Regions from separate parts of the Homo sapiens genome. Here all the other regions are linked to region 4. The links are contacts of gene promoters, found by promoter capture Hi-C in blood cells and fetal thymus (Javierre and others, 2016). All regions are on one chromosome and are shown on one strand. Each heading gives the region's core, a stretch centred on a gene start or on the middle of the fragment in contact. The rest is flanking DNA. Distances are from core to core; before and after follow the strand shown. Region 1 has its middle 23 kb from the start of AICDA. Region 2 overlaps LINC00612 (long intergenic non-protein coding RNA 612). Region 3 has its middle 30 kb from the start of LINC00612. Region 4 holds the start of A2ML1-AS1 (A2ML1 antisense RNA 1). Region 5 has its middle 6.2 kb from the start of AICDA.

Region 1 (5,685 bases), core at 2,730-5,229, 200 kb after region 4:
GTTCTCCTCTACACATCTGCTGCCTAGTTTTGGCCAAGTGAACTTTCCACTGATATCCTGGGCTCTTTCCTCCCATTCCCATATCTGTTCTTTCTTCTCCTCAGTCCCAGAGCACTTATCATTTCTGCACCCCTTATTTATGGACTTTCTCCTCTGATTGTACAAACTAATAGCATCCCTAAAGAGAGAATAGCCCAGTCATTGCTTGTTTCTTTTTTCTGGCTATTCAGTCCCTAGAAGTCTCTGAGTTTAATCAGTTTTTTTTTTTCTTCTGGGGAAAGAGCTTTAATATCCTGGTACACCATGGTGAGCAGAAGCCCAGGCAAAGCATCTACACAGGCAGGTGTGTGTGGTTTTGAGCCCACCAGGTCCCACTTTGTCTCATCACAGTCCCTCCCTAAGGTGCTGCCTAGAATTCTGCACAAACGTTCTTACTCCCAAAGCACAGGGCTTTCTTCCAGCTTGCTTTTCGAAGGAGGCATTTAAACCAGGACAAAGACAGAAGATAAAGGAACAACCAGGCAGAGAGGCAGAGACGCTGACACAGAGTTCGGTTTTTACTATTATGTGTTTGGCTGGGTGCAGAATTGCCCTCACCACCCCTGGCCACCCTGGCCTCCTGGGAGGAACAGGCAGAGATGGCTCCAGATGGCTCTTGGCTGCCACTCTAGGCCTCAGGGCTTATACAATGAGCACAGCGGGTTCCACCTTCCAATAGGAAGTGCAAACTCTAATTCACAGTCAGACTTCACCAGGAGGGAGAGATGGTCTTGGCTGAAGGCACTTTAATCAGGGAGCAAACCCAGTGCCAGGGTTTGTCTTCCTTCTCGTTACTCTGATAAGTCTAGATGCCACTCTGTTGGAAAACCAGCACTGCCCACAGCTAGGGTTAGTGCACTGACTGAGCGAAGCATGAGACCTGCTCACTGGTACAACTTCTCGTTAGGGCTATTAGCATGGTCAGCTAGCAGCTAGCATGGAGTGAACTGTTTTCCATAGGCAGCCTCATACTTCTTGAGCCGGGCCACTATCTTCTGGGGGCCATACAGAGCCACAAAGCAGAAAGGCCCTCCAAAACAAGGCGGGAAGCCAAGCCCAAAGACAGCTGCGATGTCTCCCTCTGCAGGTGTGGCCAAGATCCCCTCTCGCAGGCACATGACTGCCTCATTCACAAATCTTGTCACCAGGCGGAACTGGATGTCTTCACCTGGGGAGACTTCAGACTTAGGAGGCATCTTTAGACTCACTAAGATACTATCCACATCAGAATTCAAATTCTTACTCTTCACACCCTCCTGATAGATGTAAAAGCCCTTCCCAAACTTGCGACCTAGGAAGCCCTTGGACACCATCTGTGTCAGCAGTTCTGGGTTTCCACCTCCAAACCGCTCCCCAAGGGCTTTGCGCAGATCTTCCGCCATATGTTTCGCTACATCCACGCCAACTTCATCCACCAGTGTGGCGGCACCCACAGGAAAGCCAAAGCTTGTGGTCAGGGAATCCAGCTTCTCCAGGTCAACTCCTTCCTGGAGGATTCGGATGACTTCAGACATCATGGGTGCAAGACACCTGGTGGTATAGAAGCCAGGTCCATCCATAACCACAATGATGACCTTCCCCTGCTTGAGACTGACTGCCACAGCTGAAGCACTGAGTGTCTTTGGAAGTTTTCTCGGTTGTGATCATCTCCAGCAGCTGCATCTTGTCCATGGGAGAGAAGTAGTGCATGCCAATCACCTTCTCAGGTCTTTTGCTGACAGCAGCGATTTCACTGATTGGGAAAGCAGATGTGTTACTGGCAAAGACACAGTGATCTGGAATCACCGCTTCTACTTCCTTTAGCACTCTGTGCTTAAGACTAAGGTCCTCAAACACAGCTTCAATCACCATGTCGACCTTTAAAACGTTGCTAATCAAGCTGCCCAGTTGAAGGGGTGGCCTGCCCCTCCACATCTGTGGGTGTTTCTCGTCGGGTGGGACGAGAGACTGAGAAAAGAAAGAGACACAGAGACAAAGTATAGAGAAAGAAAAGTGGGCCCAGGGGACCGGCGCCGGCACCGGTCTCTGAGTTCCCTCAGCATTTATTGATCATTATCTCTGCCCTCTCGGAGAGGGGAATGTGGCAGGACAATAGGGTAATAGTGGGGAGAGGGTCAGCAGGAAAACATGTGAACAAATGTCTCTGCATCATAAACAAGGTAAAGAAAAAGGTGCTGTGCTTTGATGTGCACATACATAAACATCTCAATGCATTAAAGAGCAGTATTGCTGCCAGCATGTCTCATCTCCAGCCCTAAGGCGGTTTTCTCCTATCTCAGTAGATGGAATATACAATCGGGTTTTACACCGAGACATTCCATTGCCCAGGGATGAGCAGAAGACAGATGCCTTCCTCTTATCTCAACTGCAAAGAGGCTTTCCTCTTTTTCTAATCCTCCTCAGCACAGACCCTTTACGGGTGTCGGGTGTCGGGCTGGGGGACGGTCAGGTCTTTCCCTTCCCACGAGGCCATATTTCAGACTATCACATGGGGAGAAACCTTGGACAATACCTGGCTTTCCTAGGCGGAGGTCCCTGCGGCCTTCCGCAGTGTTTGTGTCCCTGTGTACTTGAGATTAGGGAGTGGTGATGACTCTTAATGAGCATGCTGCCTTCAAGCATTTGTTTAACAAAGCACATCCTGCATAGCCCTAAATCCATTAAACCTTGAGTCGACACAGCACATGTTTCCGCAAGCACAGGGTTGGGGGTAGGGTTACAGATTAACAGCATCTCAAGGCGGAAGAATTTTTCTTAGTACAGAACAAAATGGAGTCTCTTATGTCTTCTTCTTTCCGCATAGACACAGTAACCGTCTGATCTCTCTTTTCCCCACACCCAGTCAAGTTGCTGAAGATGGAATCCCTTACAAATGATGTTAGAGCTTTCTTATTCACTTTATCATTCAATCCTTTGAACACTTGTTGCTGTCCTTGGCCTAGCCTAGTGAGTGTGGCATCTTTAAGTATAGTCTTTAGCCTCTTATCCACAGAGACTTGGGTGATGCCTGCTCCCTTCAGCCCTTCACCAAGAATAGCCAGACGCTTAACATCCTTCTGTGGTGCTCCAAATTTATTCTTCTTGCACAAGACCTGACCATGGTAGAGACCCATCAAGGCCTTTGATTCACTGGTCATTGCAAGCTATCCAAATTTCTGAGATTCAGAGAGATAACCAGCATCAATCCCTCGCTCAATTCCAGTCTTTACCACGTCAATTATTTTCAGAGGTGCAGGATAAAGGCCTTTAGTCTCCTTTTGCACTTTTTCTTCCACTTTTTTGTAAACCTGTTGCCTGACAAATGGAATAGTCATGGTGTACGCTGTCAATTTTTCCACCAATCCCTTGTCTCTCTTTGGAGAGATCTTCTTATCAGCTAGTCCTTTGGCAAAAGTAATTGCAACTGCTTCCAGGTATTCGATTGTCCATTCCTCTGGAGGTTTTATTCCCGGTCCCAGGGGTTCTACCAATTGGTCAACCAGTCCCATTTTCTTTGCGCTATCTGCATGAATGTTTCTACTAGTCAGCATCATGTCAAAAACAGCAGGCACACCCACCATTTTGGGCAGCCTTTGTGTGCCTCCTGCTCCTGGTAAGATCCCCAGCAAGACTTCAGGGGCACCTAATATTGTTTTTCCATCTTTTGTTGCTATTCTGTATTGGCATGAAATGGCAAGCTCAAGCCCTCCTCCCAGGCAGGATCCACTGATGGCAGCTATAACAGGCTTTGCGGCCTTTTCAAGTTTCTCAAATGTTCTCTGTGCTTCTTGTGATACCTGTGTTACTTCTTGAGGGGTCTTGCAAGTGGCTAACATATTGATATCAGCACCTGCAATAAAGCGGCCTGGCTTTGGATGAAATAAGGACAGCATTTCTGATTTGATTAGTAGCCCAGACTTCATTCATAACTTCCGTGAACTCTGAATGCAGCTCTTTACTCAGTGTATTTACCTTTGAAGTGGAAGATTTAATTCGAATAACTGCCACATCCCCTTTGACTCCATAGTTAATATGGGTTCTGGTCAGCAAAGCAGAAGACTCTGTAAAATTGCGGCGTATATAACCTTGGGATCAGAGGATCCTGAAGTCAGAGAAGCGGCTGAGGATGCCAATCGCCCGGTAGGCCACCATGTTGAGCTGAAGAGGACAGCAGTGAAGAGCACTTTAGCAGGGCCGCCTGAGCGGAGGACTTTTCCTCTTAATCAGGATTTTTAAAAATTAAGGTGAAATTGACATAACACACTATTAAGCATTTTAAAGTGTACAATTGAGTGGCGTTTGGTACATACAGACTTGTGTAACTACCACCTCTATTTTCTTTTTCTTTTTCTTTTTCTTTTCTTTTTTTTTTTTTTTGAGACGGAGTCTTGCTCTGTCGCGCAGGCTGGAGGGCAATGGCGAGGTCTCGGCTCACTGCAAGCTCCGCCTCCCGGGTTCACGCCATTCTCCTGCCTCAGCCTCCCGAGTAGCTGGGACCACAGGCGCCCGCCACCACGCCCGGCTAATTTTTTTTTGTATTTTTAGTAGAGACGGGGTTTCACCGTGTTAGCTAGGTTGGTCTCGATCTCCTGACCTCGTGATCTGCCCCGCCTCGGCCTCCCAAAGTGCTGGGATTACAGGCGTGAGCCACCGCGCCCGGCCCAACCACCTCTATTTTCAAAACTTTTTCCTATCCCCAAAAGAAAACCTCATATTCCTTAAGTAGCAACTCCCTAGTCTCCTCTCTAGCCCCTGGGCAACTACCAGTCTGCTTTCTGCCTCTAGGGATTTACCTATCCCGGATATATTTTCATATAAATTAAATACTTCCCTATAAATGAAATCATGCACAATGTGACTTTTCTAGTCTGTCTTAATCAAGATTTTAGGATTATTTGCTCGGAGCGTAAATAACTAATTACAGAGCACATCCAGGAAAATCATCTCAATAGGAGAATTTTGATTTTACTTATTTTTTGCTGTAGCCATACCTCCTTTAGGGAACCTATGGATGGAGGTCTAAAGTAACCCGAATGCATGGAGGTAGGGGCAGGCTGAATAAATTACCCAAAGTGCTGGCATGTACCGAGTTAGTAGTGTTGTTTTCTAACCATACTGAGATGGTTGACTCTCCCTTTCCTCCTCTGGTAACAAAGTGAAAAGGCCCTCATTGATTGGTAATTTTAGCCAATGTGTGGATATGGGCGGGGAGTGTGTGGATCGGTGATGGGTGGGTAAGAAGGGTGAGGGGTTGTGGGGAGGGGGAAACCGGCTGCAGTGTGAACTAAAGAATTTGGAGCTGCTGGCCGGGCGCAGTGGCTCACGCCTGTAATCCCAGAACTTTGGGAGGCCGAGGCGGGCAGATCACGAGGTCAGGAGATCGAGACGATCCTGGCTAACACGGTGAAACCCCGTCTCTACTAAAAAATAGAAAAAATTAGCCGGGCGAGGTGGTGGGCGCCTGTAGTCCCAGCTACTCGGGAGGCGGAGGCAGGAGAATGGCGTGAACCTGGGAGGCGGAGCTTGCAGTGAGCCCAGATCGCGCCACTGCACCCCAGCCTGAGCGACAAAGCGAGACTCCGTCTAAAAAAAAAAAAAAAAAAAGAATTTGAGCTGCTGATGTCAATTCGTTTGCTTCTCAAATCTCATTAAGGACACTGATTTTAA
Region 2 (5,185 bases), core at 2,393-4,892, 230 kb before region 4:
GTAACCACAGGAAATATAAATATACTGTCTCTTACCTAGAGAAATCTTATAGTCTAATTGTGAAGATAGTCTTCACGTGACGAAAAAGATCATCATTAATCCAAAACATATAAGTTATAAAGAAGCGACATATACCAGCAATTCTAAAATCTGGTTAGCATCCTTTGTAGAATTTATTTTAAAATGCAGATATCCAGGTCTCATCAATAAAGATTTAATTAATTATTTTTGGGGATGTGCTCAGACATCTGCGTTTTTTGTTTTTTGTTTTCGTTTTTTTGTTTTTTGAGATGGAGTCTCACTCTGTTGCCCAGGCTGGAGTGCAATGGCGCAATCTCAGCTCACTGCAACCTCTGCTCCCAGGTTCAAGCAATTCTTCTGCCTCAGCCTCCCTAGGAGCTGGAACTATAGGCGCCCACCACCACGTTGGGCTAACAGGCATCTATGTTTTTAATGAACTCTGTAGGTGGTTCTATCATGCAGTTAGTTTTCAGAACCATTCACACTGACAGTAAAGGCTATTTATTCCCAGCAGTTGAAAGACCACTAAGGACACAGGAATAGTTAGCAAAGCTACTTAAAGATGCCAGGGCTGGGGCCGGGTGCGATGGCTCACGCCTGTAATCCCAGCACTTTGGGAGGCCAAGGTGGGCAGATCATGAGGTCAGGAGATCGAGACCATCCTGGCTAACACAATGAAGCCCCGTCTCTACAAACAAACAAACAAACAAACAAAATACAAAAAATTAGCCGGATGTGGTGGCGGGCACCTGTAGTCCCAACTACTCGGGAGGCTGAGGCAGCAGAATGGCTTGAACCCAGGAGGCGGAGCTTGCAGTGAGCCGAGATCACGCCACTGCACTCCAGCCTGGGCGACAGAGCGAAACTCCATCTCAAAAAAAAAAAAAAAAAAAAAAAAAAGATGCCAGGGCTGGCTGGGCACAGTGGCTCACACCTGTAACCCCAACACTTTGGTTTGGGAGGCCAAGGCGGATGGATTGCTTGAGTTCAGGGGTTCAAGACCAGCCCAGGAAACATGGCAAAACCTCATCTCTACCAAAAACACAAAAATTAGCCGGGCATAGTGGCATGCACCTGTGGTCCCAGCTACTCAGGAGGCTGAGGTGGGAGGATAGCTGGAGCCTGGGAAGCTGCAGTGATCAGTGATCATGTCACCACACTCCAGCCTCGGTGACAGAGCAAGAACCTGTCTCAACATACATACATGCATATATAAAATTAAACATAAAAACAAAAATAAATAAAGATGTCAGGGCTTATGTTGAACCTTAACTGAGAGCAAGATTCAAAAGACACTGAGGCTTATTTTTCTTTCTTATATCTATAGTTACACAGGGAGCTGTCTAATCTTGGATGTATCCAAGTTGATATCTGGTTTTATCCATTGAAACCCACAGTGAAAATGGTAAATAGGTGCTAGGTGTTTGGATTTTTTTAATCCAATGTAAGAATAAAACAATGGTATCCTAATAATGTCAAAGCAACATTGGTCATAATCTAAGGAAATTGAATTCATATAGTACCAAATATATATTTAGCATTGTGCTAGGTGCTGATACATTCTAGATAAAAATATTACACATGGGTAACCAAAACTGTCAAATGACATTTCAGGGCAAGATATAATTAAGTACCAAAATCATTGGCATAGTCTTTAAGTACTGTGAAATGTAGAGAAAGCTGAGATGAATGGCAGTGTAGAGACAGATGGCTTTGCAAATCATCTCAGATGACTAGCTATCCAATGTGAGGACACTTCTCCCTCACCTTCAAACAAATGCTAAAGACGCCTGTTACTTAATCATATGAATATTCAATCTTGTATCTAATGTGGTGGTATTCATAATACTCTGTATATGTTTTCATCTTACTGGACAAGTGTCTTCGAACTCATTTAAATGAATTTAACCCCAGCTTTGTTTATGTATAGACTTCTTCAATCTCATAGTCTATTTGTCTCTTTGTACCCCACAGGCTTTCTTTATTCAGTAACACTGGTGATTTCTCTTATTTTCCTTAGCTTGAAAGATCTAGCCACGTGAGCAGGACAGAAGTGCACAACAACCATATCTTGATTTCTGTGGACCAGGTGGGGCCCCTGCCAGCCTTGCTAGACAGACCCAGGTGAACAGTCCTTCTAGGGGATCTCATCACCAGGCAAGCACGTGGTACGAGAAGAGCAGTCATTAGGAAGGCCATTTGGAAAAGCACATCCTCTCTGTTCACGTGAGATATTTTACATCCTCATTCCTCATCGCAAGCTTCCTGGGATTTGGAGTGTCACAGACAAGAGGGTTGGGGGAGGCCAGTAGGTATGGATTTGTTTATATTAAAATGAGCATATGAATATTTATATGTTTATATTAAAACATATATGTTTGTTTATATTACAATGAGCATATGAATATTTATATGTTTATATTAAAACATATATGTTTGTTTATATTAAAATGAGCATATGAATATTTCTGTATACTTCAGATAAACATTCTTTTCCATAAATAAGCTTCATCATCCAGAAGCCATGTTGAAAGTTGGTAATCAAGGATAGGAAGTGTTTCCAAGGGTTGTCAGTGATTAAATCAACCTTACCTTAGCATACATGTATGAGAGAAGTTAGATAAATTATACATAGAGAGATAGCTAGATAGATAATAGATAAATAAGGTAGATGACAGATTAGATACAGATGATAAACAGATATGCTATCAGTCTAGATCTATTACTCACAGTCAGTCGTATCACAGTGTAATTCCATCAACTTCATTTGCAGCAAAAGAACAGCCCCTGATGTACGCCTGTTTCCTGAATATTTGGAAATATTAATATTAATATAGATAGAGTCAGCTTGCCAGTATAAAGAATCTATCTCTCACTATAGGCAGAGCCATGTGTTGGATATTATGGAGGAATATGTATTATTTTAATCGTTTAAAAGACTAATAAACTTCTAATCTACTTTTGGGAGCCTCTGCTCAAGTTCCTGAGGTTCCTACTCTAAAATCCACATCACCCTCCAACTGCTCCCTATGTGAGCCATTAGGGAGCACAATGAATTAGAGAATGAATCCTATTAGCCCACTAAAAAATTATCTTTCAAAGGATGAAGACTGATGCTAAGGAAAAAGAGATGAGGCCTCCCTGGTTCCGCATTATTACTCCTTCCTTTCTTGGGTTACGGATTGAACACTGACCTTTTCTTTCACTCTTCTGCAAGACAACCCCATAAGAAAGCTGAAACCTGCTTTTGTGAAAGCCTATGATTACTATAAGACAGGTGAGCAAAACAGAATCCTAGATAAACTCAGTTCTTTCCAGTGTGGTGTCTTTGATGGAAAAATAAAATAAAAGCCAATGTGTTTGGGGTTTTTTTCTTTTTTACTTTATATAGATTTAGGGGGTACAAGTATGGTTTTGTTACATGGCTACATTGCACAGTGGTGAAGTCTGGGCTTTGAGTGTAGCCATCACCCAATTAGAGTACATTGTACCCATTAAGTGATTTCCCATCCCTCTTGCCCTGTCACCCTCCCACCCTTCTGAGTCTCCAGTATCTGTTATCCCACTCTCTATGTCCATGTGTACAAATTATTTAGCTCCCACTTATAAGTGAGAATGTGAAGTATTTGACCTCCTGTTTCTGAGTTATTTCACTTGAGATAGTAGCAACAAGGGTGGAAGTGGAGGCCAAACCTCAATTCTTAAAGCAATAAAAGTGTGGTAAACCCTTGTACATCTTGTTTTCAGTTTAATCTGTCTCCATAACTTATTTTTTCTTCCTTGGCCTACAAAACTACTGCCAAAACTACCTGTAATATACATGTATATTGATATGTAAGCCTATCAGTCGTGCAAAATAATCCAAAGTACCAAGAGTTTTACGTAGAAGTGCTTATAAATAAAGGCATACATAAATCTTAAAAAGATAATATAGCAATGCAAAGAAATAAAGAAGAGCCTAAGAACTATACAAATAATTATAGTAGGAACTAAGAGAGGGGTGAGAACTATAGCGTTGAGTGGTCTTTAAACAGCAAATGAAGAGGCTGGGCACAGTGGCTTATGCCTATAATCCCAGCAGTTTGGGAGGCCATGGCAGAATGATCTCTTAAAGCTAGAAGTTTGAGACCAGCCTGGGCAACTAAGTGAGAGCCCATCTCTACAAAAAATTGAAAAATAAAATCAGCCAGCATGCTGGTACACACCTGTAGTAGTCCCAGCTACTCAGGAGGCTGAGGCAGGACGATCATTGGAACCCAGGAGTTTGAGGCTGCAGTGAGTGAAAGAGTGAGACCCCATCCCTAAAATACACACACACACACACACACACACCCCCCAAGTAAAATTTCAGCTGGAATATAAATCGTGGGTATTATACTGATTTATGGAGAGAATTATGCTAAGTCTTTCAGATGAGGAAAACATATAAGAAATATCATGCAAGAAAAAAGAAGCAAATATGGAACAAGAACTGAAAGAACACATACCCGCGTGATCCCCCCTAGTACTTTGCTTGAACACTGTAGCATGAGCAGGCTTTGATTTTCCACCAGAGTAACGGATTATACTAATGGTATCAAGAGTGGAAATTCCTTGACCATGTCTATATATTTCCCCAGTGAGCTGACATTTTTGTGATCACGCAGGCCCTGATTCAGTATGGTTTGCAGTCCTTAAATAGGTCAAAGCCTCTCCACATAGCCCTGTCCCGTTGAAGCTCCCATTCTCAAGCTTTTCTCCCATTGTGTGTTTCAGATGAAGCAAATTTGCTGAATACAGTGTCCCCTGCAGCCGATAGGCAGTTTGCTCTACATATCCCAAGCCTTCATTTTGCTCTCAAAAGCAGTCCTCCTAAATACAAAATCATCTACATCTTTTATTAGTTGATATCAGATTTATCATACTGCAAGGTAACGCAGAACTATACAGCTTTGGAGAGGAACACTAACTTCCTGGAAGGTTTCCTGATTTTCTTATCAGAAGAGTGTAAATGAAATTACCCTGTGATTAGGGTAGATATCTGATGGATTCCATTCTCAGCCATAACCAGTTTGGTCTCCTTTAGCAAAGCCCTGCTGCTGTCCATATCCAATTAGAATTAAATTCACTCCTTGGCAAGCCCGAAGTCATCCTGTTCGCTTTCCTCTTCTCTCCACAGGCACAG
Region 3 (5,490 bases), core at 2,436-4,935, 200 kb before region 4:
ACCACGAATGGGGTTTGCAGGACTGGAAGTTGCTCTGGGTGAGTCAGTGAGTGGTGAGTGAATGTGAAAGCCTAGGACATTATTGTACATTACTGTAGACTTTATACACACTGTATACTCAAGCTATAGTAAATTCATTTTAAAAAATTTTTTTCATAAAGTTTATTTCATGATTGGTGGGTAGTGCATTTAACAGTTAAATATACTTAAATAATGTGTAGGTGACTGCACGGTTGCAGCATATTGGTAACTAGATACATAACCAATTCAACTAGAAACCAGCTAACGAGTAGCTGTTTAAATATTTAAAATATAGCTCTTGTTTAGAGCCTTTGTTTTGATCACCTTCTTTGTGGGAAGAGCCTGCTGATCACAATGAAAGTATATTAAAGCCAAATCTTCTGATATCCATTGCCATTTCTTTCAGCTGGATTAAGTCTCCAACTCCAGGACAAACCCAAGTCTTTGGCCTCCTCCATTAATGCACTTTTTATCTAGCAGAGCAGAAAGTGCAAGCTTCACAGCAGGCTCAGAGTCTGAGTGTAAATGAAGTCTCTTTCCTTCCACTCCAATTAAACTAGAGTTGTTGACTTTTGCAAACATAGAAGCAGTGAAATGCAACTGATATTTAGTGGCAAGACAAAATGAGTGCAGTTGGCACTTGATGTCCGAGCAAGGTTTACTGAAGTATCAAGATTGTCACATACCCTCTGATAAACTGAGCCTCCAAATTCTGCCCCATTATTGTTATTAGTGTGAAGCTCGAAGTCCCCCATCCGGTAGCCCACTACAGTTATTCCTTGTCAGCTTTGACTTGGCACTGTCAGTGGTCATCTGGTACCCAGCAAGCCAGCCCTCGTAACCAAAGACAGCTGAAGCATAGATTGCAGGTCCAGCAAAATCAAAATTAACATCACAAGCAAGGTTTATGCAGTCCCTCTTGCAAGAGGACTTGATTTTACCACTTTTGTTTCCTGTGATTGCTAAGAAGGTAGTATCAAATATTAGTTTCAAACCTTGACAAAGGTGGTCCAATTGTGATTTCTGTTCCCAGAGTATTAACAGTGTCTCATTTTTCTGGGAAAGTCACACCATACTCACACCGTTTATATTTGGTCTCCAAGACTTCAAAAGCTTTTCCAGTGTCTGCATTAAATGAACCAGATGTTGAAAATCCCACAGCACTGCGTGACTTTGTTCTCACATCCAGTTTTACCAACCCCAAACCAAATCCTTTGTTAAAAATATCTCTGGCAGCTTTGCCAAGGTTAACATATGATGAAGAAATCCACACTGGCCACATGCAGGTCTGCCCATAGGTCGCCATGGTAAGGCCACAGTAAGAGGTGATATGGTGATCTCCTAAGGAGGGCCACGGCCACCACTCCACTCTCAGCTGAGGCTGGTCAGCCGCCTCACAGTCAGGCCACAGCTGCCGTGAAGTGAAATCTCTTTCTTCAATAATAAATTAACCTTAGCTTCTTCTAATTTTTTTACTTAATAAACTTTTTCCTTTTTGTGTTAACTTTTATTTTAGGTTCAGTGGGTACATGTGCAGGTTTGTTACATGGGTAAATTGCATGTCACTGGGTTGGGTGTACAAATGATTTCGTTACCCAGGTATGAGCACAGTACCCAATAGACAGTTTTTCCATCCTCACTCTCTCCCAATCTCCACTCTCAAGTAGCCCTCAGTGTCTTTTGTTCCACTCTGCCTCCCTGCATACTAAATGTTTACCTCCTACTTATAAGTGAGAACATGTGGTATTTGGTTGTCTGTTCCTACATTGGTTCACTTAGGATAATGGCCTCCAGCTCCATCCATGTTGCTGCAAAGAATATGATTTTATTTTTTATGGCTGTGTAGTATTTCATGGTGTAGATGTACCACATTTTCTTTATCCAGTCCACTGTTGATGGGCATCTAGGTTGATTCCATGTCTCTGCCATTGTGAATAGTGCTGCAAGGAACATGCACGTGCATGTGCCTTTTTGGTAGAACAATTTATATTCCTTTGGGTATATACTCAGTGATGAGATTGCTGAGTTGAATGGTAGTTCTGTCTTTTTTTTTTTTTTTTACTTTAAGTTCTGGAGTACACGTGCAGAACGTGCAGTTTTGTTACATAGGTATACATGTGCCATGGTTGTTTGCTGCACCCATCAACCCGTCACCTGCATTAGGTATTTCTCCTAATGCTATCCCTCCCCCTAGCTCCCTACCCCCTGACAGGCCCTGGTGTGTGATGTTCCCCTCCCTGTGTCCATGTGTTCTCATTGTTCGACTCCCACTTATGAGTGAGAACATGTGGTGTTTGGTTTTCTGTTATTGTGATGGTTTGCTGAGAATGATGGTTTCCAGCTTCATCCATGTCCCTGCAAAGGACATGAACTCATCCTTTTTTATGGCTGTATAGTATTCCATGGTGTATATGTGCCACATTTTCTTTATCCAGTCTATCATCGATGGACATTTGGGTTGGTTCCAAGGTAGTTCTGTCTTAAGTTCTTCGAGAAATCTCCAAACTACACTTTTTTGTATGAACGCACAGCTTACCACACAAATGTATTGTACAGCTATACAAAAATATTTTCTTTCTTTATATCCTTATTATATAAGTTTTTTTCTATTTAATTTTTTTTTTACTTTTTAAATAGCTTTGTTAAAAACTAAGACACAAAAACATACATTAGCCAAGGCCTACACAGGGTCAGGATCATCAATATCACTGTTCTACTTCCTTATCTTGTCCCACTGGGAGTTCTTCAGGGGCAGTAACACGCATGAAGCTGTCCTCTCCTGTGATAACAATGCCTTGTTCTGGAAAACCTCCTGAAGGGCCTGCCCAAGACCGTTTTACAATTAACAAATTTTTTAATGGATAAGTATAAAGAATGTACTCTAAAATAACAGTAAAAAGTATAATGGCCAGGCACGGTGCCTCACGCCTGTAATCCCAACACTTTGGGAGGCCGAGGCGGGCGGATCATCTGTGGTCAGGAGTTTGAGACCAGCCTGGCCAACATGATGAAACCCGTCTCTACTAAAAATACAAAAAATTAGCCGGGCATGGTGGCGCATGCCTGTAAATCCCAGCTACTCGGGAGGCTGTGGCGGAAGAATCGCTGGAACCGGGGAGGCGGAGGTTGCAGCGAGCCGAGATCACACCATTGCACTCCAGCCTGGGTGACAAGAGTGAAACTCCATCTCAAAAGAAAAAAAAAAAGTATGGTATATTAAGTACATAAATCAATAACAGAGGCACATATTATCATCAGGTATTATGTATCATACATAACCGTATGTGCTATGGTTTTTACATGACTGGCAGTGAAGTAGGTTCATTTACACCAGCATCACCACGAACACGTGAGTAATGAGTAATGTGTTGTGCTGTGATGTTATGACAGCTATGATGTCCCTAGAGATAGGATGTCACTAGGAATTTTTCAGCTTCGCTATAATCTTATGGATATAATTACGGCATATGTGTGATCTATTGTTAACCGAAACATCATTATGCTGTGCATGACTGTATGTATCTCTTCTACTGGTTCTGCTTCTGTGGTTGAAACCTGACTGATACAATACACAAATACCAATTGTCTCTCATGGGGTTCTTCAATGGATTTTTAGGAGATCCTACACAGAGATACATCCCTGAGGAATTTCTGCACTGCATCATTCCCTGATACAGGTGAGATGCTCTCTGGGAGGCCTCCTGTGACTTTACCTTAGCTCTCAACTTCTAGTGAAGCATCCAACATGGCTTCTTTCTTGTAGGATCTCCCACCGATAGGGAGTCCTCTTGGATAAAGCCCTTTGTAGAGGACGCAAACCCACATCTGCTACTTCTGGGATGAGGGGAGCTCATATACCCACTCACCAAATAGTGAAGCTGAGCCTTGAAGCCACCCCACCTTACCCTGTCATCAGGAGCAACTTCTGCTAACTTCTCACCACTGGGCCTCTCTAAACAATAGTCACACAAAAGTGTCTTTGTCCTCTTCAGTAAGGGACATAGGTCAGGTTCTTCCAAACACTTTTTTATTCTCCATGCTGTCTCAAATTTACAAGCTCCCATAGCTGAGCAAGCATAGAGCCAAGGAGTAAGACTCTGTCTGCCTTCAGCAAGCAGTGCCCAATTTCCCCAAAGTGCCCTCTTGTTTCCCCTCTCACTTGGAATCAGGGTGGGAGGGGAAATACCCCAGTAATCCCCTTTTTTTTTTTTAAAGAGTCTCATTCTGTCACCCTAGCTGGAGTGCAGTGGTATGATTGTAGCCCATTGTAGCCTCTATCACCCAGGCTCAAGTGATCCTCTCACCTCAGCCTCCCTAGTAGCTGGGACTACAGATATAAACCACCTTGCCCAGCTAATTCTTTTATTTTTTTATTTTTGTTAGAGATGATGACTTTCTACGTTCCCCAGGCCAGTCTTGAACTCCTAAGCTCAAGCGATCTTCCCTCCTTGGCCTCCCAAAGTGCTGTGGTTACAAATGTAAGCCACTACACCCAGACCCCAGCAATCTTTTGATTCACAAATTCTTTCAAGGAATTTGTCTCTGCAATCATGTAATCACCGGCAGTTTCTTCCTGCCCTCTGCACAGGCAAAATCAATTCACTGAGACTACGGCATAGCAGTAAAGAAAGAGTTTGATTGACAGGAGGCTAACTCATGTAGTAGAACCAGAAATATCACTCAAATCAGTCTCCCTGAAGGCTCAAAGTTTTGGGGGTTTTAAAGGATAGTTGGTGGTCAGAGGGCTAGAGAATGGGGAATATTGATTGATTGGGGTAAAATCATAGGAGTGTGGAAAATAGTCTTCATGCACTGAATTGGCCTCTGGGTAGGGCTACAGGACTGATTGACTCATGAGTTGCAGGTCTGGCCCGAGTCAGCTGGTCATGAGAAACGTTAACAGTCTGAAAAAAATCTCAAAAGGCCAATCTTGGGTTCTATAACAGTTGATGTCATCTACAGGAGTAATTGGGGAAGTTACAAATCTTGTGACCTCCAGAACAATGGCTGGTTATCGTTTCACTTTGCCTACATTTTAGCAGAATTCAGGCCCCTCTCATAATTCCTAATCCTAACCTGTGGCCTTTCATTAGTTTTACAGAGGTGGTTTAGTTTTAGGAGAGGGCTATTATCATCTTTGCTCTAAGGTTAAAGTATAAATTAAGTGCCTCCTGAAGTTAGTTTGGCCTACACTGAGGAATCACCGAAGACATCTTGTAGCTTAGAAGCAAAATGGAGTCAACTATGTCAGTTTTCTCTTACTGTCATAATTTCGCAAAGGTGGTTTCAATCAGTCTCTATCTTTTCCTGATATGGGCTGTTGGTAATTGTCCTTAGACCAGTTTGGAAAGTCCTGTAGGGTAAGCTAAGAACTCTCTTTGGAATATAGGATTTCTTAACACCTATTGTTCTCAGCTTTAGATTTTAGCCAAAATTCTGAGTCAACCAAAAACACTCTTTCTAATATTT
Region 4 (5,091 bases), core at 1,602-4,101:
TCCTCAAGACAGTAGTTGCTAAATAGATGTGAAACCATTAAGTTTGTGAGGAACAGGTCATTGTGCTTGCAACTAGATGAGATTGAAAGCTGGAATTCAGTGAATAGCAGGAGAGGGGCTCAGAGAGACTGCAAAGGTATTCAAAAGAGAAGACCAGTTTGGATCTAACTTGGAAAGAAGAAAATGAAATCAAGACAGTCCTTGATTTTTTTATTCTTGGGCCAAGTGTCATGTGATGCCAACCAGTGAAGAAGCTGAACCACTAAATACAAATATCAGCCTTGATAGTAGGGATAATGGCAATTCTTCAAAAAAAGCAAAAAATAAGGAGATCTAAGGATCACGATGAGCTAGGACTTCCACAAACCTGGGCTATATAAACATCAGGAGGAGAATATCACTAAGATTGCTATAAATTTCCATAAAGTCAAAACAAAACAAAACAAACAAACACTTCTTTAGGCCAGACACGGTGGCTCACACCTGTAATCCCAGCACTTTGGGAGGCTGTGGCGGTTGGATCACCTGAGGTTAGGAGTTCAAGACCAGCCTGGCCAACATGGTGAAACCCCTCTCTACTAAAAATACAAAAATTAGCCGGACATGGTGGCACATGCCTGTAACCCCAGCTACTCCGGAGGCTGAGGCAGAAGAATCACTTGAACCCGGACAGTGGAGGTTGCTTGAGCCGGGATCATGCCACTGCACTCCAGCCTGGGTGACAAAGTAACTCAAAAACAAAATACAAAACAACAACAACAAAAAACACTTCGATAACAAAGTACTTTTCTCACACAGGGATCAAGAATCAGGAAAGACATCAGTTGGCCAGAAATAGGCTCTGGAAGAAAATAAGTGTTTCACTAGGAAAGTAGCATTGCTGAGGCCAGGCATGGTGGCTCACGCCCATAATCCCAGCACTTTGGGAGGCTGAGGTGGGCAGATCACCTGAGGTCAGGAGTTTGAGACCAGCCTGACCGACATGGTAAAACCACATTTCTACTAAAAATACAAAATTAGCCAGATGTGGTGGTACATTCCTGTAAACCCAACTACTTGGGAGGCTGAGGCGGGAGAATCCTTTGAACCCAGGAGGGGGAGGTTGCAGTGAGCTGAGATCCCGCTACTGCACTCCAACCTGGGCAACGCAGCGAAACTCCGTCTCAAAAAAAAAAAAGGAAAGTAGCATTTCCGACTGGAAGTTGCCTGGAGTTTCTGAATAACTGAGTATAGCAATCAAGTTAGACAGGGTCAGTTAATATCAGGCTTACTTTACTTGTTTGGGGATTAAATATTGTGCTGTGTAAATGAAACTGACTTTGCAAAATTAAAACTGAGGAAACGATGACAGTGAAAGAAATCAGACCTAACCAACGCTATCTTGCTTCTAAGCAGTTCCACTCCTCTCACCTTAGGTACCCTCACTACGCCCCCTCTCAGCAGGAAGAAGCCAGAACAATCGACAGCCTTTTCCCATCTTCCTAGCCCACACCTGAAGATTAAGGTGTTATAAAACCCAAAGGGAGGGACTGAAGCCGCCTTTGCAAAATTATAACTGAGGAAACTATGAAAGTGAAAGATGTCAGACCTAACCGACTCCATCTTGCTTCTAACTTGTAAGCTGTCCTTGTGGATTCCTGGGTGTAAGCCAGACTAACTTTGGGAAGGAATTCAGTTCATGGTTTGACTCTGAAACAAAATTGATAACAGCCCTTTCCCAAAAAGACCCCCTTCTTGCCCGGGGACCAGTCTGCCTTTGCAGGACTAACAAATTAGCTACAAGATTAGAAATTACACTTTAGGGGTCATGCAGCCTCTGACTCCAAGAGTCTGAACCTCTTCAAATTGCTCCTGGGGAGAACATCACTGTTGTAAAACCCAAGATCAGCGCCTGAGATGTTCTGCAGACCCTGCATTCAGTGGATCAGCTGACACCACCCAGACCAGTAATCTGGCTCAACCAGTTCTGCCATCCCACCCAGGAGGAGGAAAACAGCAAGAAAACCTCACTTTGACCATCTATGACTCCATCTCCAACCTGACCAATCAGCACTCCCCACTTCCCAAGCCCCTACCTGCCAAATTATCTTTAAAAACTCGATTTCCTGGCCAGGCGCGGTGGCTCACGCCTGTAATCCCAGCACTTTGGGAGGCCGAGGCGGGCGGATCACTTGAGGTCGGGAGTTCAAGAACAGCCTGACCAACATGAAGAAACCCCGTCTCTACTAAAAGTACCAAAATTAGCCGGGCGTGTTGGCGCATGCCTGTAATCCCAGCTACTTGGGAGGCTGAGGCAGGAGAATCACTTGAACCTGGGAGGCAGAGGTTGCGGCGAGCCGAGATCGCGCCATTGCACTCCAGCCTGGGCAACAAGAATGAAACTCCGTCTCAAAAAAAAACAAAAACAAAAACAAAAAAAAACTCGATTTCCAAATGCTCAGGGAGACTGATTTGAGTAACAGTAAAACTCCAGTCTCCCACACAGCCGGCTCTGGGTGAGTTACTCTTTCTTCATTGCAATTCCCCTGTCTCGATAAATCAACCCTGTCTAAGCAGCAGGCAAGGTGAACCCATTGGGTGGTTACATAAACACAATTTTTATCCTAGCTTTCTTGGTAAAATTCCTTTTGTTAATCTCAGTGTTTCAACTGAATTTGGAGGGAGAGTTTGGCTGGAGAAATAGAGTGGGGAGGAAGGAGTAATTTCACAAGAGAAAGAGCCTAACTGCAGAAAACAGAACACCTGGAAGTAATCCCGCTTCATTTGAATCGTAACAGGGGTAGTTAATGAGATCAACCCTGAGGGTAAGTGAGTCTAAAATAGTGCTGCTGCGGGCCACGCTTTGAACCCAGCACTTCCTTGTTGCAGCTCTAGAGAAAACAGTCTGTTAAGAAGTAAGCACTCAGGCCGGGTGCAGTGGCTCAGGCCTATAATCCCAACACTTTGGGAGACCAAAGCGAGAGAGGCCAGGAGCTCAAGACCGGCCTGCGCAACAAGGTGAGACCCCCGCCCCCCACAACTCTACAAAAAAATAAAATAATTAGCCAGGTGTGGTAGTGCACACCTGTGGTCCCAGCTACTGGGGAGACTGAGATGGGAAGATTACTTGAGCCCGGGGCAGGGTCAAAGCTGCAGTGAGCCATGACTGCCACTGCACTCCAGCCTAGGTGACAGAATGAGACCTTGTCTTAAAATGTTAAAAAAAAAAAAAAAAAGTAAGAAGTACTCAACGTTATACCTACCAAAGAAAAGCCATAGGTGATGGGAAGGAGGAAGTAAAAGGAAATCTATATTGGGAAAGAGAGTAGCGGGTAGGGCATTACCAATCATAACAAGCTAATAACTCCCCTGCACATAGGGAAAGGAAACAGCAGCTCTGAGAACACGGAGATGGAAAATGGAAATCATGCTTTCTCTATGTTTATCTCTAAAAGTTTCATTTGAATACACAGGCTGGGACAGACGGAAGAGGAAGAAAGCAGGGGTGTCCGGGAGGTAAGTGTCTCAGAAGCATGTAGAAATGACACATGCTCCAACTTGAAATCAAACCTGTGGTAAGGCTTATGATTCTAGGGATGGGGAGTCCAAGGAAAAATCAAATATTCGCAAAATGTTGCTACATTTTAAGCTTTGGCATGTATTTATTTAATGTTGCCCTAAGAGAATTACCTACTTTGTAAATTATTTTGCCTCATAGAAACAGAGTGGAAGCGGACATTCTCCTTTCTGCCTTAAAAAAAAAAATGCTTTTGTCAGTCCTGAAGAAAAGGTCTTGAAGTTTGCGAAAACTCTTAAAATGAAAGGGGGCTGAGCATGGTGGCTCTTGTCTGTAATCCCAGCACTTTGGGAGGCCGAGGTGGGTGGAACACTTGAGGTCAGGAGTTTGAGACCAGCTTGGCCAACATGATGTAACCCTGTTTTTACTAAAAATACAAAAATTAGCCAGGCGTGATGGTGCGCGCCTGTAATTCCAACTATTTGGGAGGCCGAGGCAGGAGAATTGCTTAAACCCAGGAGGCAGAGGTTGTAGTGAGCTGAGGTCACGCCATTGCACTCCAGCCTGGGCCACAGAGCGAGACTCTGTCTCTAAATAAACAAATAAATAAAATAAAATGACAAGGAGCATAACCATCTCTCAAGAACCTGATGAATGTGTAGATACTGAAGCTGAGAACTGGTTACCTCTGCTTGTTCCTAGGCTGATTTAGGCTAGCTCCCTGAAGCTCGCCCAGCACTTCCAGTCCCACGCACACAGCAGTCTCCAACCCAGAGGGCCTCGCCTTGCCACGCCCAGGCTGAGAGGACTTCCACCCTAGAGAATCTCTCATCCTTTTCCCTGTTCTCCCTGCGCCACTCCTTCTCCTCCTCCCAACTCACCTTGTCATTCACTGGAACGAAGTTGCTATCCATGGTGACAATGCGGAAATACACTGGAAAGGAACAGGCATCATTAGCAAAGGGGATGTTTCCTGGCTCAGAATTTTTTTTTTTTTTTTTTTTTTGATACAGGGTCTCACTCTGTCACCCAGGTTGGAGTGCAGTGGCACAACCGTGGCTCACTTCAGCCTCAAACTCCTGGGCTCAAGTGATTCTCCCACCCCAGCCTCCGGAGTAGCTGGGACCACAGGCAGGTGCCACCACACTTGGCTAATTTTTGTAGAGACAGGGTTTCACCATGTTGGCCAGGCTGGTCTATGAACTCCTGACCTCAGGTGATCCACCTGCCTTGGCCTCCCAAAGTGCTGGGATTATAGGCGTGAGCCACCGCGCTCCGCCTCCTGCTCAGAATCTTTCCTCTATCCCTCCTCCTTCCTCACACATGCTCTGAGTCAGCAAAACCCCAACAGGTTTTACTTTTTTACAAAACCTGCTCTGAGAGTAAGGTAAAGTCCAAACACAGGCCTGGAGCTCAGGAGGCAGAGCAAGAGGCAGAATAGAAGCCTCCATTGACCACCCTCCTCATCCCCCACAGTAACACCAAACTGAACAACTGCCCACGCAAAACAGCACTGTCATAAGAACCAAAAATCAGAAGAGTGATCACAGTGCCTGGTTTTAACTTTATATCACTGAAAGAGGCACTGAAGAGGG
Region 5 (5,140 bases), core at 1,905-4,404, 210 kb after region 4:
AACCAAGGAGGTAAGAGATATATACACTGAAACTTATAAAACATTGATGAAAGAAGTTGAAGAAGACGACAAATAAGTGGAAGGATATCCTGTGTTCATGGATTAGAAGAGTTAATATTGTTAAAATGTCTATATTGGCCTGGCACAGTGGCTCACGCCTATAATCGCAACACTTTGGGAGGCCAAGGCAGACAGATCATATGAGCCCAGGAGTTCGAGACCAGCCTGAGCAACATGGCAAAACCCCATCTCTACAAGAAATACAAAAATTAGCTGGGCATGGTGGCACATACCTGTAGTCCCAGCTACTCAGGAGGCTGAGGTGGGAGGATCACCTGAACCTCGGAAATCGAGGCTGTAGTGAGCCATGATCATGCCACTGCACTCCAGCCTGCACTCCACTCCTTCAAAAAAAAAAAAAAGTTTATACTAAATAAAGGGACATAGAGATTAAATGATTAAACACAATTCCCATCAAAATTCCATTTTTCAAAGAAATAAACAATTCTAAAATTTGTGTGGAACAAAAGACCCTGAATACACAAATCAATCTTGAGAAAGAAGGACAAAGTTACAGGCATACTTTCTGATTTCAAATTATAGCACAAAACTATGGTAGTCAAAACTGTATGGTACTGGCATAAAAACAGACATGTAGACTAAGAGAATAGAAAACTCCCTAATAAACTCCAGCATACAAAGTCAACTAATTTTCTTTGTGTGTGTGTGTGTGTGTATGTGTTTGAGACAGAGTCTCTGTTGCCCGGCCTGGAGTGCAGTGGCATGATCTCAGCTCACTGCAACCTCCACCTCCCAGGTTCAGTGATTCTCCTGCCTCAGCCTCCCAAGTAGCTGGTATTACAGGCATGAGCCACCACACCTGACTAATTTTTGTATTTTTAGTAGAGACAGGGTTTCACCATGTTGGCCAAGCTGGTCTTGAACTCCTGACCTCAAGTGATCCACCCACCTCGGCCTCCCAAAGTGTTGGAAATACAGACGTGAGCCACCACACCCCACAAGTCAACTAATTTTCAACAGGGGTACCAAGAATACACAGTAGGGAAAGGATAGTCTCTTCAATAAATTGTGTTAGGAAAACTGGATATCCACATGCAAAAGAATGAAATTGGACCCTTATCTTACACCATACACAAAAATCAACTAAAATGGATTAAGGACTTAAATAAGGCCTGAAACCGTAAAACTACTAGAAGAAAATGGGAGTGGGAATGGGCAGCTTCTTGACGTTGGCCTTGGCAATGATGTTTTTGGCTATGACACCGAAAGAATAGGCAATAAAAGCATAAATAAAAAGTGGGACTAAATCAAACTGAAAAGCTTCTACACAGCAAAGAAAACAATCATCAACATGAAAAGGCAACCTATAGGTTAGAAGAAAATATTTGCTAATCATATATCTGATGAAGGGGTTAATGTCCGGCCAGGTGCAGTGGCTAATGCCATATAATCCCAGAACTTTGGGAAGCTGAGGCAGGAGGATCACTTGAGCCAAGGAGTTTAAGGTCAGCCTGGGCAACAAAGTGAGGCCTCTATTCCTACAAAAAAAGTATAAAAATCATCTGGGCATGGTGGCTTGTGTCTGTAGTCCCAGCTACTCGGGAGGCTGAGGCAGGAGGATTGTTTGAGCCTGGGAGGTCAAGGCTGCAGTGAGCTGTGATTGCATCACTGGACTCCAGCCTGGGTGACAGAGCGAGACCCTGTTTCAAAAAGGAAAAAAAGGTAGACAGGGGTTTAATATCCAAAATATATAAGGAATTCATACAACTTAGTACCAAAAAAAAATGTCAACCTAAAATAATCAAAAGGGTCAGAATCTAATTTAAATAAAGTTTATTCAAGGACAAAGTTTGAAGACAGTCCATTCAGAAACACCAACTCTAAGGAAATGGAGTCAGTGTTCTGAACTAGGGAAGTTAAAGTATCATTTATATAGGCAGAGACACAGGAGTTTATGCACACTTACAGCATTTTTCATACAAGGTTGGTGCATAGTTATAACAATTTGATTGATTATAGGCAGTGTTTCTTTTTGGGAAGGGTACATATAGCATCTTTTGCAGATGTTGTAATAGTCATATGTTTTCTGTCATCTGGTCTAGGCAAAGCAAGACGACAAAGGAGAAGTTAATCTATGATAAGGGTCATTAATTAACAAGGCAGGAGGTTTTTGTCCTTGAGGTCATTTAATTTTCTCTAGTTACTGTACAGGACAAGAAAAATAAGGAAGTGGGTTAGTCTATAACTTGAGAAGCAGATGTTGCAACCATATGTGACTCAGATCACAGTCACATCTCTCTCAAGGCTTACAGTGTTTCTGGGGTTCCAACAGCTTTTTAAAATTTTTTTGAGATGGAGTTTCACTCTTGTCGCCCAGGCTGGAGTATAATGGTGTGATCTCAGCATACTGCAACCTCCGCCTCCTGGGTTCAAGCAATTCTGCCGCAGCCTCTCGAGTAACTGGGATTACAGGTATGCGCCACCACACCCAGCTAATTTTTGTATGTTTAGTAGAGATGAGGTTTCACCATGTTGGCCAGGCTGGTCTCGAACTCCTGACCTCAAGTGATCTGCCCACCTCAGCCTCCCAAAGTGCTGAGATTATAGGCGTGAGCCACCGCGCCTGGTCCACGAACAGCTTTTAAATCATATTTATTCTCACATAAATAACCCAATTAAAAATGGACAGAGGACCTGAATAGACATTTCTCAAAAGAAGACATACAATTGTCCAACAAGTGTATGAAAATGTGCTTAACACGGTAATCATGAGGGAAATACAAATCAAAATCACAGTGAGATATCATCTCTGTGAAATAATAAGAATAATATATATTTGGTCTCTGCCCCTGGTTCCTGGCACAGATTTCCTAAAGCCCTGAGAATTTCCTGAGTGATAAGAGCATCTGACACAGAGCTTTCGAATAGCTTGGAATTTCTGGATGACAGGAGTTTGTTTTGTTCTAATGAGATGACTCCTGGTAGGCTCTAGGAGAGGTGCCAGTCCCCAGAAAGACCAAGTCATGACTAGAAGCTTGGAATTTTCAGCCCCACTCCCCATTCTCCCGAGAGACGAGAGGGGCTGGGAATAGAGTAAATAATTAATCGTGCCTACATGATCAAGTCTCCATAAAAATCCCTGAAGTATGGAGTTCAAAGAGCTTCTGAGTTGGTAAATATATCTGTGTAGCAGGAGGGTGGCACACCCCAACTCCAGGGGACAGAAGCTTCTGTGCTCAGACCCCTCCCGTTCTTACCCTCTGTACTTTCATCGAGCTGTTCATACGTAACTTTTTTTTTTTTTGAGACAGAATCTCGCTCTGTCACCCAGGCTGGAGTGCAGTGGTGCGATCTCAGCTACTGCAACCTCTGCCTCCTGAGTTCAAGCGATTCTCATGCTTCAGCATCCTGAGTAGCTGGGACTATAGGTGTGAGCCACCATGCCCAACTAATTTTTGTGTTTTTTTAGTAGAGATGGAAGTTTCATCATGCTGGCCAGACTGGTCTCAAACTCCTGGCCCGAAGTGATCTGCCCACCTTGGCCTTCCGGAGTGCTGGGATTACAGGCATGCACCACCACACCTGGCTTGTATGCTTTATTATATCCTTTATTAGCATAATAAACTGCTAAAAGTTAAGTAAGTGTTTCCCCGAGTTTGCTAAGCCAGCTTAGCAAATTAATGGAACCCAAGGCATGGGTTGTAGGAACCCCTAAGCCAGTTGATCAGAAGTACAGGTCACAACCTGAAATTTGAGATTGGCATCTGAAGTGGGGTCCATCTTGTGGGACTGACCCACAATCTGTGAGGTCTGATGCTATCTCCAGGTAGATAATGCCAGAATTGAATTAAATTATAGAACACCCAGTTGATGTCCACTGGAAAACTGCTTGGTGTATGGGAAAAGACCGGCACACATCTGGTGTCAGAAGGGCTGTGTTGAGTGGTATGTGAAGGTGGAAGAAAAAATAGTCAGTTCTTCCTATTATATGCTTTCTTTTTCTTTTTTTTTTTTTTTAAGACGGAGTCTCACTCTGTCTCCCAGGCTGGAGTGCAGTGGCACGATCTCTGCTCACTGCAACCTCCACCTCCCGGGTTCAAGCAATTCTCCTGCCTCAGCCTCCCGAGTAGCTGGGATTACAGTTGCCTGCCACCACAACTGGCTTATTTTTGTATTTTTTTTTTTCAGTAGAGACGGGGTTTCACCATGTTGGCCAGGCTGATCTCGAACTCCTGACCTCAGGTGATCTGCCTGCCTCGGCCTTCCAAAGTGCTGGGATTACAGATGTGAGCCACCACACCTGGCCCCTATTATTGGGTTTGCATTTTACATTTTTATTTTTTCCTATCTCTTAACCTCACACCTGTTAGAATGGCTATTACCATAAAGACAAAAGAAAACAAGCGTTGGTGAGAATGTGGAGCGAAAGGAACCTTTGTACACTGTTGGTGGGAATGTAAATTGGCACAGCCGTTATAGGGAACAGTATGGAGGTTTCTCCAAAAAAAAAAAACTAAAACTAGAACTACTATATGATCCTCAAAAATTTTAATACAGAACTACCATATTGAGCAATCCTGCTTCTGGGTAAATACCCAAAGAAAACAAAATCAGTGCCTTGAAGAGATAACTCCATGTCCACTGCTGCGCTATTCACAATAGCCAAGATATGGAGACAACCTACGTGTCTGTCGACAGATGAATGGATCAAGAAAATGTGGCACGTATATATATATCAGAATAAGAATATCATTCTGCCTTAAGAAAGGAGATCTTGCCATTTGCAACAACATTGATAAATCTGGAGGACATTATGCTTGGTGAAATAAGCCAGACACAGAAAGAAAAATACTGCATAATCTCACTTATATGTGGAATCTTAAAAAGTTGAACACATAGAAGCAGAAAGTAAAATGGTGAGCCAGCCACAGTGGCTCACGCCTGTAATCTCAGCACTTTGGGAGGCCGAGGTGGGTGGATCACTTGAGGCCAGGAGTTCGAGACCAGCCTGGCCAACATGGTGAAACCCCCGTCTCTACTAAAAATACAAAAATCAGCTGGGCGTGGTGGTGCATGCTTGGAATTCCAGCTAATTGGGAGGCTGAGGCAGGAGAATCCT

Evidence for each region. Contacts are between HindIII fragments. The CHiCAGO score rates a contact against its expected background, and 5 or more counts as called.
Region 1: a fragment that was not itself captured here is called in contact with the fragment with the promoter of A2ML1-AS1 in region 4 in 2 of 17 cell types (endothelial precursors and naive B cells); the score reaches 6.5 in endothelial precursors.
Region 2: a contact is called between a fragment that was not itself captured here and the fragment with the promoter of A2ML1-AS1 in region 4, in 4 of 17 cell types (M0 macrophages, activated CD4 T cells, megakaryocytes and 1 more). The highest score is 7.4, in M0 macrophages.
Region 3: a fragment that was not itself captured here is called in contact with the fragment with the promoter of A2ML1-AS1 in region 4 in 1 of 17 cell types (M2 macrophages); the score reaches 5.6 in M2 macrophages.
Region 5: a contact is called between a fragment that was not itself captured here and the fragment with the promoter of A2ML1-AS1 in region 4, in 1 of 17 cell types (endothelial precursors). The highest score is 6.1, in endothelial precursors.

What each region holds. Positions count from the first base shown.
Region 1 is chr12:8,632,852-8,638,536 of GRCh38, reverse strand. It overlaps the pseudogene HADHAP2. Among named protein-coding and RNA genes, the nearest start is that of AICDA, 23 kb to the right of the region's middle. RefSeq lists enhancers at 1-378, 1,995-2,804. The HindIII fragment of the contact is 4,984 bases long and covers 1,488-5,685 here.
Region 2 is chr12:9,055,733-9,060,917 of GRCh38, reverse strand. LINC00612 (long intergenic non-protein coding RNA 612) reads left to right here. Exons shown (of 3, transcript NR_034140.1): 2 at 2,042-3,298; 3 at 5,180-5,185. It also overlaps a transcript of KLRG1 not described here. Among named protein-coding and RNA genes, the nearest start is that of LINC00612, 6.7 kb to the left of the region's middle. The HindIII fragment of the contact is 2,225 bases long and covers 2,530-4,754 here.
Region 3 is chr12:9,032,184-9,037,673 of GRCh38, reverse strand. It overlaps a transcript of KLRG1 not described here and the pseudogene VDAC2P2. Among named protein-coding and RNA genes, the nearest start is that of LINC00612, 30 kb to the left of the region's middle. The HindIII fragment of the contact is 5,098 bases long and covers 1,137-5,490 here.
Region 4 is chr12:8,829,066-8,834,156 of GRCh38, reverse strand. It overlaps A2ML1-AS1 (A2ML1 antisense RNA 1), which reads left to right and starts at 2,851. Exons shown (of 2, transcript NR_046715.1): 1 at 2,851-3,495. A2ML1 (alpha-2-macroglobulin like 1) reads right to left here. Exons shown (of 36, transcript NM_144670.6): 4 at 4,378-4,430. RefSeq lists enhancers at 1,329-2,072, 5,045-5,091. The HindIII fragment of the contact is 3,703 bases long and covers 1-3,630 here.
Region 5 is chr12:8,616,444-8,621,583 of GRCh38, reverse strand. No RefSeq gene overlaps it. Among named protein-coding and RNA genes, the nearest start is that of AICDA, 6.2 kb to the right of the region's middle. The HindIII fragment of the contact is 193 bases long and covers 3,058-3,250 here.